Regions from separate parts of the Homo sapiens genome. Here region 1 is linked to region 2. Evidence: promoter capture Hi-C in 16 types of primary human blood cells and fetal thymus (Javierre and others, 2016). All regions are on one chromosome and are shown on one strand. Each heading gives the region's core, a stretch centred on a gene start or on the middle of the fragment in contact. The rest is flanking DNA. Distances are from core to core; before and after follow the strand shown.

Region 1 (7,575 bases), core at 985-3,484, 310 kb after region 2:
CTATACAAGTTCAGCTCTATATACTGCAAGTTCAGCTCTAACAATGATCAAGTCTCATCTGCCCCTAGTCCATCAAAAGATGATAGATTTAGGATCCAGTTTCCACACAAATCCAACAGGTAGCCTTCATCAACCCTACAGGCCCAGAATAAAATTATCATTTGGGGTTGCACAAATCTTCCACAGTCAAATATTACATACCATTCTGGCCATGTGGCCTAGAAGTCACATCTAGTCCCTCATTCTAGGTCACCTATGTCATACATATACCCAAACACCATTATTCTACCAGGATTTTTTTTATTTCAAAGCTGTTGTCACTAGGAGATAAAAACTAGGTAGTATGTACACATTTATTCACTTTATGGTAAATCATTTCGCAAAAGGCTTATACAATGAAAAATTATTTTGATATTTGTCCTGCTCTGGCATTAACTATTTATTAGTGATAATCTCGATGTCACAAATTAAGAAAGAAAGATACCTTTTAAAAGGGAGAGACTGAGTTACTAAAATTTACATCAAAATCTAGGCGAAGTGCCAAAAACAACTCCAAATCACCAAGGAATCATCTGAAAGATGAGTGGGGAAAAATGAACAGAAGAACAGAGTAGAGCACGGGGCCTGGCCCACGGAAGGCACTCAACTGTGTCGAATGAAAGAATAAATCCATTTACTTTTCTTGATTCACATTCACTCATCACTAGCTCCAGCTACACTTACTGTTCGTATTGACATATCCTAACATATCCCTGATAGGATGGGCAAGTAATAAATACAGACTTTTGCTTGAAGAACTTGGGATTAACAGTTATGTTCATGATGAAAAACACAACATCCTGTACATCAGGAAAGAAACACTACTTTGCATTTGGGAGGCCGAGGCGGGTGGATCACCTGAAGCCAGGAGTTCGAGACCAGCCTGGCCAAAATAGTGAAACAAAAAAATTGGCCAGGTGTGGATGGCGCCACTTGAGAGACTCAGGCAGGCCTGAACCCGGGAAACGGAGCTTGCAGTGAGATGAGATAGTGCCACTGCACTCCAGTCTGGGTGACAAAGCGAGACTCTGTCTCAAAAAAAAAAGACTAAAGAGTCATGACTATATATTACAAGTGATTCCAGACAGGATCCTGTATCAAGGGTAAGAACTGCTATAAGGGACATCACTTGCCAAAATATGACCATGGTCTACAGCCATGCCATCCAATCTCAAAAGCTAAGCAGCGTGGGGCCTGGTTAGTAGTATTGGGATTGGGAGGCTGCCTGAAAATACTGGGTGCTGTAGGCTTAAAATAAAATTGTTTTTTTAATATGAACATGGCCGGGCACAGTGGCTCACGCCTGTAATCCCAGCACTTTGGGAGGCTGAGGCAGGCAGATCACCTGAGATCAGGAGTTCAAGACCAGCCTGGACAACATGGTAAAACCCTGTCTCTACTAAAAATACAAAAATTAGCCGGGCATGGTGGTGAGTACCTGCGCTACTTGGGAGGCTGAGGCAGGAGAATTGCTTGAACCCAGGAGGCAGTGGTTGCAGTGAGCTGAGACCACACCATTGCATTCCAGCCTGGGTGACAAGAGCGAAACTCCATCTCAAAAAAAATTTTTTTAATTAAAAAAAAATAAATTCAACATGTGTAATACAACAATCACACACATAAATTCAACTGAAATGAACACAATATGAACAGCTATCCCAAGTTCATGCAATGACAAGTGAACCATGAATGACTGCCACCTGGGCTACACCAACCGGAACTGTCACCAATTCTAAAAAGCGTACCAGCACACTTTTAAGCCTTCAAAACCAGGGTTAAGTTAATGAAGACATTCCCAGAGAAAAATACAGGGATGGAGTGAGACAATAAAATATAAAAAGCAGAACAATCAGCAATCTCCCTCCTGTTCCCAAACACCAAATGTCAAAGAGGCTACCATTAGATATTTACTGTGTGATCAACACACAAATAGTTCTCTGCAGAGGCTGTAATAAACAGGTCTCATCTGCTGGAGACAGTGTCTCAAGACACAGAAGAGCATATGCATTAAATAAACAAAAAGCAACTTAGGAAGCCCTACTGTAATGCACCTTATTCTATCACTGATTCTATTAGTGCCACACATTATAGTATATCCTGAAGATCGTAAAATGATGAGCTCATCATTTAAAATAAACTGATTTTTAAACGAAAATTAGAACATACAACTTTCTACTTTGATTCCACTCCTACTCACTGTTGTGGCTTTTTAACCAAGAGTTTATTGGGAAAAAAAATGCTAAATGGCTGCTCCACAGGACATCAACAAGTACCACAAAGTAGTAATGAGCAACTCTATTTTTTTTTTGGAGACAGGGTCTCACTTTTGTCACCTACGCTGGGATGCAGTGGCATGATCTCAGCTCAATGCAGCCTCGACCCCTCAGGCTCAGGCGATCCTCCCACCTCAGTCTCCCAAGTACCTGGGACTACAGGCACGCACCACCACGCCCAGCTAACTTTTTGTTTGTTTGTTTGTTTGTTTGTTTTATTGAGAGAGGGACTTGCTCTGTCGTCCAGGCTGCAGTGCAGTGGGGTGAACATAGCTCACTGCAGCTTGACCACCCCCAGGTTCAAGCAATTCTCCCGCCTCAGCCTCCCGAGTAGCTGGGACCACAGGCATGTGCCACCACACCTGGCTAATTTTAAAATTTTTTGTAGAGATGAGGTGTTGCCATGTTGTTCAAACTCCTGGGCTCAAGCGATCCTCCCACCTCAGCCTCCCAAAGGGTTGGGATTACAGGCATGAACCTCTGCACCTAGACTTACTATGTACATTCTTAATTCTAGCAGTTTAAAACATAAATGTACCCTACCATTATAGCTCATTAACTATTAACTAAAAGATGGAGCTGAAGACTGCATAGTTTCATCAATATAAGAAATAGCATTTTTATTTATAACGCTGATAAAACTATTTTTCTCCAGAGCTACAAGAACTTGAGCAACAAATACTAAAATAACTTTTAAACATCTTTTATTTCTGCTAATTATATGACCTTTATAATATACAATCTCATTATACAAAGACAAATATAAAGCCTTTAGGCCACAAATAAATCAGATTACATAAATGAATCAAGGACTTCAAGACTGTTTTCAAAAGCAGTGTCTACACTGAAATCTACTTCACTTCAACTTTGGTGGTACCTAATCCAGACAAATAAATGTTGATCCAGCTGGAAAGAAAATTTGAGCTCTAATGAGTGCGTGCGTGTGTGTGTGTGTGTGTGCGCGCATATATGTGTGCAAGAGTATATGGATAATATCTGTTTGCATATAAGTCACTTTTTCTTCTCTTTAAAGTTTTATTTCTTGAGGCATAACGTGCACAATAAAAACATCAGGTGGATGGTGATAAGGACTGGATCTGTTTCCCAGCCAAATCTCATGTTGAAATGTAGTCCCCAGTGTTGGAAGTGCAGCCTGGTAGGAGGTGTTTGGATCACGGGGGCGTATTCCTCATGAATGGCTTAGTGCCATTCCCTTGGTGACAAGCGAGTTCATGTGAGATCTGGTTGTTTAAAAGTGTATGGCACCTCCCACTCTCTCTCTTGTTCTCTCTTGCCATGTGACGCATCTGCTCCCACTTCACCTTCCATCATGAGTAAAAGCTCTCCGACGCCTCCCTGGAAGCCGGTGCCATGTTTCCTGTACAGCCCGCAGAACAGTGAGCCGATTAAACCTCTTTTCTTTACAAATTACCCAGTCTTGGGTATTTCTTTATACCAACGCAAGAACAGCCTAATACAAGTGGGTCTGTGTAACCACCACCACGCTGAAGACACAGACTATTTCCATCACCCCAAGAAGTGCCCCCATGCTCTTTTATACTCAATTCTCTCTTCCGCCCCAGGCAACCACTGATTTTATTTCTGTTCTTACAGATTTGACTTACCAAAATGTTATATAAATGAAATCACAGTTATATGGAGTTTAGTGTTTTCACTTAGTAGACTGCTTTGAAGATCTGCCCATTTTGTTAGGTGCGTCAGCAGTTAGTTCCTTTTTATTGCTGTATAGGATTCCATTGTATAGGTGTACCAAAATCTGTTTATCCATTTACCAACTGATGGATATTTGAGCTGTCTCCAGTGATTACGAATAAAGCTGCTATAAATGTTCACATAGAGGTCATTGTAAGAAAATGTTTTCATTTCTCTTGAGTAAATATTTAGAAGTAGGACTGCTGGGTTGGGTGACAAGTCTATGTTCAACTTCATAAGAAAGTGCCAAACTGATTTCTTTAGCAATCATAACATTTTGCACTTCCACCAGCAAAGCAGGAGAGTACTAACTGTCTCACATTCTTGTCATGTGGCACTGTCACCTTCTTTTTGGTTTTTAACATCAGCCATTCTAATAGGGTTGCAATGATATCTCGTGTGGTTGTAATTTACATTTCCTAACGACTACTAATGTGGAACATCTTTTTGTGTGCTTACTCTCATTCATATGAAATGGATGAAATGTCTGTCCAAATCTTTTGGCCACTTTTTCATTGAAATTTTTATTGAGACACCTATCTTTTTTAATCAGACAGTTTATCAAAGAAAAAATGCTGAAGTGTTTGTATATTTTGTTAAACCATTTGGAATTCATGAGTACTGGGTAAAAATCTAAACTGCCTACTTGCCACCCCAACTCACAACACTATGATATGCAAAGACGGATTGAAAGAAAAAACACTCATCCCCGTCTCTTCCTTTCTCTGAAGGTAAGATCCTATGCAAAGTTGCCTGCCCACTTTCAGAATCAGGAAATCAAAATTTTCCCTGTTTTGACGAGTATTTTATGAAACTACACTCTTCCCTCAGTATAAGCCAGCAACACAGATGATTAAGAAATTTGCAAGGCTTTGCAGAAATACTGCATTTTAACACGACTGATACATTTTAAAAGGAAGTACAATACTAGAGGGGAAAGGGTCACTGGCAATTCAGTAGGTGGCACTATTCTTCTCTCTGTTAAATGTATGACTCCCAATTGTGCACTGTGGTTAACCTTAAGGCCTAAGCTTTACTGTAAGGAAATGGAGAACTTGATACTGCCACGAGGAATCTTGGACTGTCTTCTTAACTTCTCTAAGCCCAGTTTCTCATCTGTAAAATGAGAATAGTAATCAAAACCTTACTGAGCTGCTGTAAAGAATTAAGATTTGAATTAACACAATGACTGACACATGACAGCGATTACGATTTATGACTATTTCCTTCAGCCGCGACTCCTGAATCACAGTGCAAATAAAGACCAGAAGGATGTGCTCTTCACAAAACTGAGTAAAAAGTCAAAGCTTCAGCCGGCAAGTAATATTTGTGTACAGCGCACCCACTGAACATAACGGCCTGACCATCCATGAGAAGTCCCATGCATTTACACAAAAAGTACTCTAGAGTTTGCAATCATGAAGACCACTTGTGAACCTTATTTCTTAGCATTTTGCTTCAGCATTTCAAACTGAGCAATGCTTCTTTTAGAAAGGTACTCATCTCTTGGTTTTTCAGTATCTCATTATTGTTGGCTTAATTTTCTCTATATAGCTACGCCATATAGACGAAAGTTGTGCTTACATGCCTCAATGACATTTTTCCAACTTCCCTGCTTGCCCTCTCTCCAATTTGGCCAAACACGGAGCAGCTTCTTAAATTTCCTGTTGTCGTTCATCTTGTTCTTGCCTGAAAACTGAAGTGGTACTACAGCACTCATTCCTGCACTGATGAATTGGCTTGGATAGTTAGATGCCAAGATTATTAAGTTTTTGTAACCAATGCGTAAAGATTTTTCCGTAAATCAATATATAAAATCAACAGTTTAAGGTTATCACTTGAATTCAAGTGTTCCTGATATATCCTATGTTCAGGTTTTAGGACATTAATAATTTACCATCAAGGCTGGACACTATGGCTCATGCCTGTAATCCCAGCACTCTGGGATGCCAAGGCAGGAGGATCACTTGAGCCCAGGAGTTTGAGATTAGCCTGGGCAGCATAGTGAGAGCCTTCCTCCACAAAAAATTTTAAAAATTAGCCAGGCACAGTGGTGTGCACCTGTGGTCTCAGCTACTTGGGAGGTTGAGGCAGGAGGATCATTTGAACCCAGGAGTTTAAGGTTACAGTAAGCTATGAACATGCCACTCACTGTACTACAGCCTGGGTGACAAAATGAGACCTTTATTTCTCAAAAAAAAACAAAACAAAAAATATATCAATGTTTAACATTCTGATTGTCACAATTCCCATTTAAACTTTTTTAAAGCTCCTCAGGGCCTGATTGTCACAATTCCCATTTAAACTTTTTTAAAAGCTCTTCAGGGCAAAGTCAATAAGTTAATATACATATAATCTAAGAAGGTAACACAACACAGGCTTTTCAAGTCACCAAAAAATAAAAGATCACTTCCATCTCCATGCTTTTTCTGGCACCATTTTCACTACCTAGAATGCTCTTCCTCAACTCTAGTTTCTCCTTAACACAATTCCCCAAGAAGACATCATCTCCATTCCTCCTCTGTCCTTCCCATCAGTTTTTTCAATCAGTATTTTCTACTCACCTGTCTTACCTGTTCTCGCCTTATTTTTGCTGGTACCACAGGTTTCTCCACCCTGGTACCATTTACAGCAGGTCTAGAGAGCAACCTCTCTAGACTGAAGCAGGGAAAAGGAGAAGGAAAGCTCCAGGAGGGGTGTGTCTAGGGGGTGAAGACAAAATGAATACACTTGACTGCATGGAAACTAATTGAGAGGCCCTACTTACAGAGCTGTCAGAGTAGGAAACCTTAGCCAGACCTAAGAATATTAAGCAAACAAGAGGGACAACTGCAATTTTCAGTCCAAGAAAACAAGAAAAACAAAGCTGAACAAGAAATGCAACCATACTACTTCAATTGGCTCAATACTGAGTTATGTTTAAAAGTCAAAATAATTAAAAACGAAAATACGGATCTAAACAAAAACTGTTCTAGAACTACACGAGGAAGATGGGGGAGAGGAAAGACCACGTAAGAGAGAGAAAATCCCTACCTACCATGATAGGAGTTCAGTATATAACTTTTTCTAAAATTGATGGAGCAATGACTAGTAAACAAATACTATTAGGAAACAAGAATGTAAAAGCTAAAATCAACACCTAAAACAGATTATTTCCGTTGCTTCTGGGAAGCAGATGGAAGACCGGACAGGAGCCTGTGGTTTCCCGCATGAATACACCCATCTCCTTTGTATTTAGCTCAAATCTCACTTTTGCAGTGAGGCTTATTATGACTACCCTATTTAGACCTCAAATTCACTCATACTATGGCATTACTTTTTTCTCATCCCACGTCCCACCTTCCAGTACATTACATAATGTACTCATTTGCTTATTATTTTTTTATTATCTGCTTCCCTACACTATACAGACTCTGTTTGGTCTACTGATACATCTATCTAAAGCAATTAGAACCATGCCAAGCACTTAGTAAAAGTTCAACAAACATTTCCTGAATTGTAAAGTCATAGTTCAAACCAATCTTTGACCAATATTACTAACTCCCACTGT
Region 2 (7,656 bases), core at 2,606-5,105:
CTTTAGACACGCATATTTAAATATCGAGGTAAAATGACAGGTCTGCAATTCACTTTGGAAAACGTCCACAAAGAAAAGGGGCATATTTGAAGCAAATGTGGAGAACCCTGATGACTGCTAAAGCTTCCTAATGGATAAATGGAGGGGTATTAAATGAGTCACTCTACTTTTATGTCTTTTCAATTATTTCACAATATTAACTATTTTTAAAACTCAAATGTTATGTTTTGAAGATTCACAGTAACGATTCGTGAAACAAAACCACATTTTATGAGACTGGACCATTACAGGAGAGCATTCACTGTACAACACACAGAGAATAAGCCCAACTGGCATTGTGGAAACTTTTGACATGGAAACTAGAAGTTAAAAAATAATTCTGCTTCTTCAAATTGCACAGGGTTTAGGAGTTTGGAAGCGTTTACATCTTTTTTTCCTATGCACTTACTTAAATTATTCCCCAAGGTTTATCAAAGACCCAAGGGGGACTCTGCACAAATACCCAGCCATGCCGCGATGGCCTCGGCCATGTCAACTGCCCCACGGGTAGAGGGTGATATCCTGCCATGGCAGATGGGCACCAGTATTGGGAGAAGTGGCCATACCTTCATGGGGACCACTGAGGGAAGGGGGAGAGGGGGCAGGAGGAGTTAAATGGCTCTATAAACCACAGTGAAGTTCAGCTCTTCTCAAAGTCACAATCCTATTTAGACAACTGTCAAGTCTTAGATGTCACAGAGGTTACTTTGTGGCAAATCTGCGAGGGGTGTAACACACGGGAGCTTGAAAGTGTAGCAAAACCATAAGAGACAATATCCTGGGGGCAGGCAATCACTAGACACAGATCAAGACCTTTAAATGGTTAAAAAACCAAAAAACTAATTTGTTCATCAGTGAAGGTTCAAGGTCATTGGAGAATCCACCCATCTTAAACAACTAACTCAGTTCAAAAAACGAAAAAATAGTAACATTTCTAACTTCAGATTCTAAATAGCATTCACATACGTCACAGCATTTGTTTGTGATTGGTATAATGTAGAGCTATTGTGAACTGCTTTTTAAATTAGTAAGTTGCCTAATAAGGGTGTTACAATTGGAAGTAGCAAAACTATTTGTAATTTTTCTTTTCTTTTTTTTTTTTTTCTTGAGATGGAGTCTCCAAGTCTCACTCTGTCCCCAGGCTGGAGTGCAGTGGCGCAATCTTGGCTCACTGCAACCTCTGCCTCAAGGGTTCAAGCGATTCTCCTGCCTCAGCCTCCCGAGTAGCTGGGACTACAGGCGTGCACCACCACGCCCAGCTAATTTTTGTATTTTTAGTAGAGACGGGGTTTCATGATGTTGGCCAGGATGGTCTCGATCTCTTGACCTCGTGATCCGCCCGCCTTGGCCTCCCAATGTAATTTTTCTATAATTCAAATTGAATGTCTTATAATTCTAAATTAGAAAGTATAAGATTAAAAAGAGTCTCAATGAAGACTATTCCAAAAATTCCTTTTACACAAAATTAAAAGCCTTAATGTGTAGCATAAAATGGAACTGCACCACAGACTTATAATTACAGCACGTTTGTACAACCTGAAACTTGGGTTCATTCCCATCCTGCCATTAGCTATGAATTATCCTGCAGACACATTTATTCTTTCAACCACTGTCCTGTTCCAGAGGGTCCACTCCCTACCAGGCCCACACCAAGGCAACAATCTCCAAAAAGCAGCGAGTGACAGAAACGAGCCTGTGGATCATGAGGGCCAAGGTACGCTGAAAAATGAAATCGACAAGACAGCATCCCGGGGCAGTGCACACAGTACAGCAGTGAGCTGGGGTGGCTTCCTGAAGCCCCGCTGTCAATGACAAGTATGCGGGCAGGTGCTGGTCCAGTCCAGCCCTAACAGAGACTTCTTACTGTGGGTCTGGGTTATAGGGCTTGAAAGGGACTGCCCTGAGGAAGGCACCCAGAGAACCAGCTCGGAAGTCGGACCGATTGTCCTGATACTCACTCACTGCTGTGTGACCTTGGTGAAGTTCTCAACCTCTGTGAGCCTCGGCTGTCTGTCTTCACAAACACCACCAACCTCAGCAAGTGGAGTGAATTAAGTAACACGCAAAACACAACACAGAAAGCTTGACCTTCCTTAAAGCCTCTTCACTTTTTCTGGGCCTCCAACTTTTAAAACCGATAACCTGAAAAAATGTAGTGCTGTCAGTCCCATAAGCTGGGTTCCTCTACAAAGAGGAGCTGGAAGGTCCCAACTCACAAGGGGATGCCCGGTCCTTTCCCAAGAGGGGGCCTGGCCACCCAAGGCCTCTAGAGGCCAGCACCTGCTCCAGGACTGCGGCCCCTCCCAGGTGGAGGGGGAAAATCATTCTTCAAACTGCTGATGGCCCTCAGGGGTTGAAAAGTTGGTCAGACTCCGCCTTGTTGAAGCTTTCTAAATGACATCAGAAAAAAGACGCGACATTCGCAAGGCACAGAGCCAACAGCTCCAGCAGTGGGGGCCACCATCAACGGACCAAGGTGGGCCAGGGGGCCTTCCGGACCCCACAATTTGGGGCCGGTCTGCAGCAACGAGGGCAGCATCGGGAATGCGAGCCTCCTCGCCCGGCCGGGTAAACATAAGCCCAGAGCCCGGCGGGGCCTGCGCCGCCTGCGGCCCGGCTGGGGCCCAGCGGACAAAGGGGAGCAGGCGGTGCCCCGTCCCAGCGGCCAGGCCGGCCGAGAGAGCCAGGAGCCACGTGCCCGGTGGGAGCACGCCAAAAGCAGGAGAACACCTGACCGTTTTTTTGGCCCACCAAGGAGACCGCCTTCTACTCTGCATTTAAAAAGAAAAACAACGCGTTACCGCTTTAAGTTTTTTAGAACTTTTCCAGAGAAAGGCCGACTAGCAACAAGGGGTGCTACAGGAATCCACCTCGCCTCACCTCTCCTAGGAAATTGTAAAAGGAATTAGCACTTGAATGGGGAGGCCGGCGTGTCTGGAATGAGAACGAGCCGCGCACGCAGTTTGAGGGTTCCGGGGAGCCGCGTCCTCCCCTTTCCAGGCGACAGCCCTAACTACAGGAATTGGCCAAAATTCAGCATTTCCAGACTTTCCTTGGGAAAAGGGGCCGAAGAAGTGCCGGCAACAAGAAGGGCCACAACGGAGCGCGCCACAGACTCACCGCGGCTGGGGTCGGGACCGGCGCAGCCCCCTCCCCTCCCGCCCGTGCGCGCCCCGAGCCGGGCGCCCCGACCCGGCCTCCACCCGCTCAGGCGCTCAGGGTCAGGCCGGGCCGGGCTGCGGCGCCCCCATCCCCGCCCGGGCAGCGAGGCCGGGCCAAGCGGGGCGCTCCGGGCCTCGGGCCTACACGCGGCGGCCGCCTCGGCCCCGGCCCCAGCCCGCGGGCCCCGGGCGGGGGATGCGAGGACGCTGGGACGCGGGCCCGAGGCGCGGGAGGGGCCCAGGCCGCGCGGGGCGCCCCGACGACTCGCGGGGGCCGAGGAGGCCGGGGCTGCGCGTCCAACGCGGGGCCGAGAAAACGGCCGGCTCGGCCCCGCCGCCGCCGCTCCTCGAGCCCCCAAGCGCGGCCCCGGCTCGCCCGCCCCCGGCCCCCGCCGCCCCGACCCCGCGGCCCCCCGATCCCCGGCCCCTGCCGCCCGCGCCGGGCCCGCCAACCACGGGCAGGAGCGCGCGAACGGCCGGGCGGGCGCCCCGAGCGCCAGGACTCACCGGGGCCGGCTCCCGAGTACATGGTGGCGCCGCCGAGGGGCTCCGGGGCCGAGGGGCGGCCGCGCGCGCGCCACGGGCCCCGACGCCGCGAGCCGCGAGGGAGCCGCCGGCCGCACGATCCGCCCCGGCGCGGCCGCCTCGCCAAACAGGTTTACCCGACGCGGCCGGGGCGGCGGGCGGAGGCGGCGGCGGGAGCGGGAGCGGGAGGGGCGGGGGAGGAAGGAGGAGGGAGGGGGAGGGGAGGCGAGGCCGGCGGCGGGAGCGCGCTCGCGGGGGGAGCGGGGCTGGGCGCGCGGGCGGGGTCCGCGGCGGCGGCGGCGGCGGCGCCGGGTCTGGCGGGGCCTGGGGCGGGGACCCGGGGAGGGGCCCGGAGACCTCGCCGGGCGGTGGGAACCGCGGGCGGGAGCGGGGACGAGGGCCGAGGGCGGCGCGGCCCGTGTGGCGCGGGGGCGGGCGCGGCCCCGGGGACCCTTCACTGCCACCCAGAGAAGCCGCGTCTTCCCGACGGGGAGGAGCCGGGCCCCCCGGCTGTGCCGCCGGAGCCGGAGGGGAGGCCACGCGCCCCCGCTTTCCCCGCCGCCCCCCGGTGGGGGGCGCAGAACCCTCCCACCCTCAGCCCCTCGGCCCCCAGCCTGGCTCTTTAAGTTACTACAGAAACACGGAGGTCGGGAAGCTCCCTCCCAGCCCGGAGCTTGAACTTGAACGCGGCCGGCCGCTCGCGCAGGACCACACCGCCACCTCCCGGCGCGGCCCCAGAACCCAGATAATCCGTTTAAAGCACTGAGAAAATCTAAGAAGTTTTTAGTAAACTGTAGCTGGTATCAGGGATCAGATCAGCGGACACGCCCATTCCAGCAGTCAGGGGCCTGCTCGGACCGTCGTGCACCTCCGAGCGTTTCTGTCCGGTCCCTCTGGGTCCGTCTGGTTTTCGGAGGCTTTCCTGGAAAAGCCAGCCTGTGGCTACCTCCTTTCTCCCCTAAGTGATGGAGGATTAGAAGGCAGAGGTTGACCCACAATCTAAAGTGCCTGGTCGCCTTTTCCCAGATTTCCCGGAGCATTCCTTCACCCCGTGGCATCGGCTGTCTGCATATGGGTGCAAGGCCCTGTTCCGGGCGGAGAATAAACAGGAGTTCTGACTGACAGGAGCTCCGCAGCCAGCAGGGTGGTCACTAGTTCTCTGCAGTCTCGGAGGACAGCCCTGAAGAAGGGCAGGAGAACCAGCACTTCCTCCGAAAACTCAAAAGGACATCAGTCTTCACCAAGTTGCCGATACAAAACGTGCTCCTGAAATGTGTAGTAATGAACACCAGGAAACCTGGGTAGGAGTGTGCATGGCATTCTTCATCACCGCTTGGACTGCATGGCACTGAATACCCACGGAGAGCAGGATGGAGAAACAGTGTGCTCATATTCACAGGATGGAATCTAGCCATTCACAAAAATTCCAAAACAGGCAAAATTAAACTGCATTCTTTAGGGAAGCATCATTAAGTAGTAAATAATTGACAGAAGGGCAAGAAGGTGCTTACTCTAAGTGTCAGAATGGTGGATACAGCTGGGGGTGAGAGGGCTGTGACCACAGCAGGGCCCCTGGGGGATTTGGGGGTGCCAGGCCTGTTCCTTCCTGCAATGGTGCCCTTTGGCAGCCATCCCTTAAACTGCACTTTTACTTTATATGCTTTTCTGTACCTTTACTGTAGTATTTCACGGAAATTTTTAAATAATCATGAATGTTACCACTTTCCTATTTATGAACCATGCAACCTCATCAATCTTCCCAGTTCGCAGATGCCCACCCTCTCTCTCTGCCCCTGTCTCCTTCACATATCCCCAAAACTCGTTTTGGCCCGAAATCCCTGAGGCCCAACTGCCCTGCTGTCAGCGACTGCACGCCTCAGCAAAGGCCCAGAAGGCTCTGTCATCACTGGCTGCCCTCAGCCCGCCTTCAGCTCCTTTGAGCGCTGTGTTGGGGAACTTTGTTGCAAGGATTTCGTTCCAGAAGGCAAGATAATGTCTCTGAGGGCTTCATTGTGTCACTTCTCTTTGGATGGCGGACACCGTGGCCCTCTGCTGGCGGAGGGGTGCCATTGCTGCCTGCCCCATCTCTATCCCCAGGGCCCATGCAGTCACTGGGTTCGCCCTCTGGGGCACGGGGTTCCCTCTGCTCTTTTCCTAGATAAGCCCATTCTCTGCAGGTCTCTACCCTCCACACCTGTGTTCAGGAATTCAGCCCGCTTCCTGCAGCCCCATCCCTACCCTCCTCCCAACCTGCTTTTCTTCTGGTGTCCCTCACTCAGCATGGCTAACAGATCCACCACCCAACGGAGCTGAGAACTGCAGTCCCCTCTGCCTGTTACCTCTCCTGCCATTAGTGAACCTGCTTAACTCATCTGACTGTGCGTCTCGGTGCTTGCTGTGACATGTCTCCAGCCCTTGCTGCTCTGTCCCCCAGACCCACGTCCCACACCCGGATGGTGACTCAGCCGACTCTGGGTCTTCTGGACCCAGTGCTTCTCCCTGATACAATTCCTTCCTCTGTGTTTTAGGATCCTGATGCTTTGATAAGACCGTGGGCTCTAATCACAGCCAGGGACATTTGCAGCAGCCTGGCCTGCAGCTCTGCACACTGGGTGCACTCAGTCTAAAGCACCAGCTCCCCATGAGAGAGAAAGAAGGGGTGAGGGGAAGTACAGAGAAAGCTCCTGAGGCCACAGGGCTGACAAAGCCCTCGGCTTTGGGGGCACTTTGTTTCTTCAAGACTAAAATGCAGGCAATGGAATAAATCATTTGTTCCTAAAACATGTTCTGCACATGATTAAAGCAGCTTTGGGAAGTCAAGTAAATTGGGAAGCACTGGATCAAACAATGATAAATAAGTTTATTGTCTGCAGGCCTTCTCAGAGCCTGTAGCAAGGTGAGAAGAATCATGCTTCTACAAAGAGGAAGGAGGGCATGAGACAGTATGCAACCTGTCCCAAACCCATTTAGCCACAGAACCCTTTTTTCACGAGGTACCTCAAGGTTCCGTGGAGCATAATTTAGGAAACACAGAGGTAGAGGTCTTCTATGATCCCTTCCAGCTCTAATAGTCTATGATTCTTTGAGTAATATATACTTTGAGACAGGATCACCAAAGTGAAAGTGTAGTGGCGAAAACACAGCTCATTGCAGCCTTGACTTCCCAGGCTCAAGTGATCCTCCCACCTCAGCCTCCTGAGCAGCTGGGACCACAGGTGCATGCCACCATGCCTGGCTAATTTTTAAAAACTTTTGTAGAGACAGGTCTCACTGTGTTGCTCAGGTTGGTCTTGAACTGCTTGGCCCAAGTGATCCTCCCACCTTGGCCTCCTCAAAGTGCTGGGATTACAGGCATGAGCCACTACACCTGACCTTATTTTTTTTGTTTTTGTATTTTTCTAGACAGGGTCTCACTCTATTGCCCATGCTGGAGTGCAGTGGTGCAATCATAGCTCACTGCAGCCTCCTGGACTTAAATAATCCTCCTACCTCAGCCTCCCAAGTTACTAGGACTACAAGAGTATCCCACCAGGCTCAGCTAATCTTTGTAGAGATGATGTTTCACCATATTGTCCAGGCTGGTTTCAAATTCCTGGGCTCAAGTGATCCACCAGCCTCAGCCCCCAAAGTGCTGGGACTACAAGTGTGAGACACTATGCCCAGACTGGTTTTTTGTTTTGTTTTGTTTTTTAATTAAAAACTAAGCAGGTGGCTCACGCCTGTAATCCTAGCACTTTGGGAGGCCAAGGCAGGTGGATCACGAGGTCAGGAGATAGAGACCATCCTGGCTAACACGGTGAAACCCTGTCTCTACTAAAAATACAAAAAATTAGCTGGTTGTGGTGGCACGCGCCTGTAGTCCCAGCTACTCGGGAGGCTGAGGCAGGAGAATCACTTGAACCTGGGAGGCGGAGGTCGCAGTGAGCCGAGA

The links. Contacts are between HindIII fragments. The CHiCAGO score rates a contact against its expected background, and 5 or more counts as called.
Region 1: a fragment that was not itself captured here is called in contact with the fragment with the promoter of AGO2 in region 2 in 1 of 17 cell types (erythroblasts); the score reaches 5.2 in erythroblasts.

The regions. Positions count from the first base shown.
Region 1 is chr8:140,939,375-140,946,949 of GRCh38, forward strand. The region is part of intron 1 of PTK2 (protein tyrosine kinase 2); the gene reads right to left. It also overlaps the pseudogene RNA5SP278. Among named protein-coding and RNA genes, the nearest start is that of PTK2, 58 kb to the right of the region's middle. The HindIII fragment of the contact is 5,639 bases long and covers 1-5,054 here.
Region 2 is chr8:140,631,778-140,639,433 of GRCh38, forward strand. AGO2 (argonaute RISC catalytic component 2) reads right to left here and starts at 3,856. Exons shown (of 19, transcript NM_012154.5): 1 at 3,708-3,856. The coding sequence starts at 3,729. ERICD (E2F1-regulated inhibitor of cell death) reads left to right here and starts at 2,458. Exons shown (of 1, transcript NR_170171.1): 1 at 2,458-6,506. RefSeq lists enhancers at 1,327-2,094, 2,095-2,861 and silencers at 2,668-2,717, 3,201-3,370, 4,021-4,420. The HindIII fragment of the contact is 24,992 bases long and covers 2,424-7,656 here.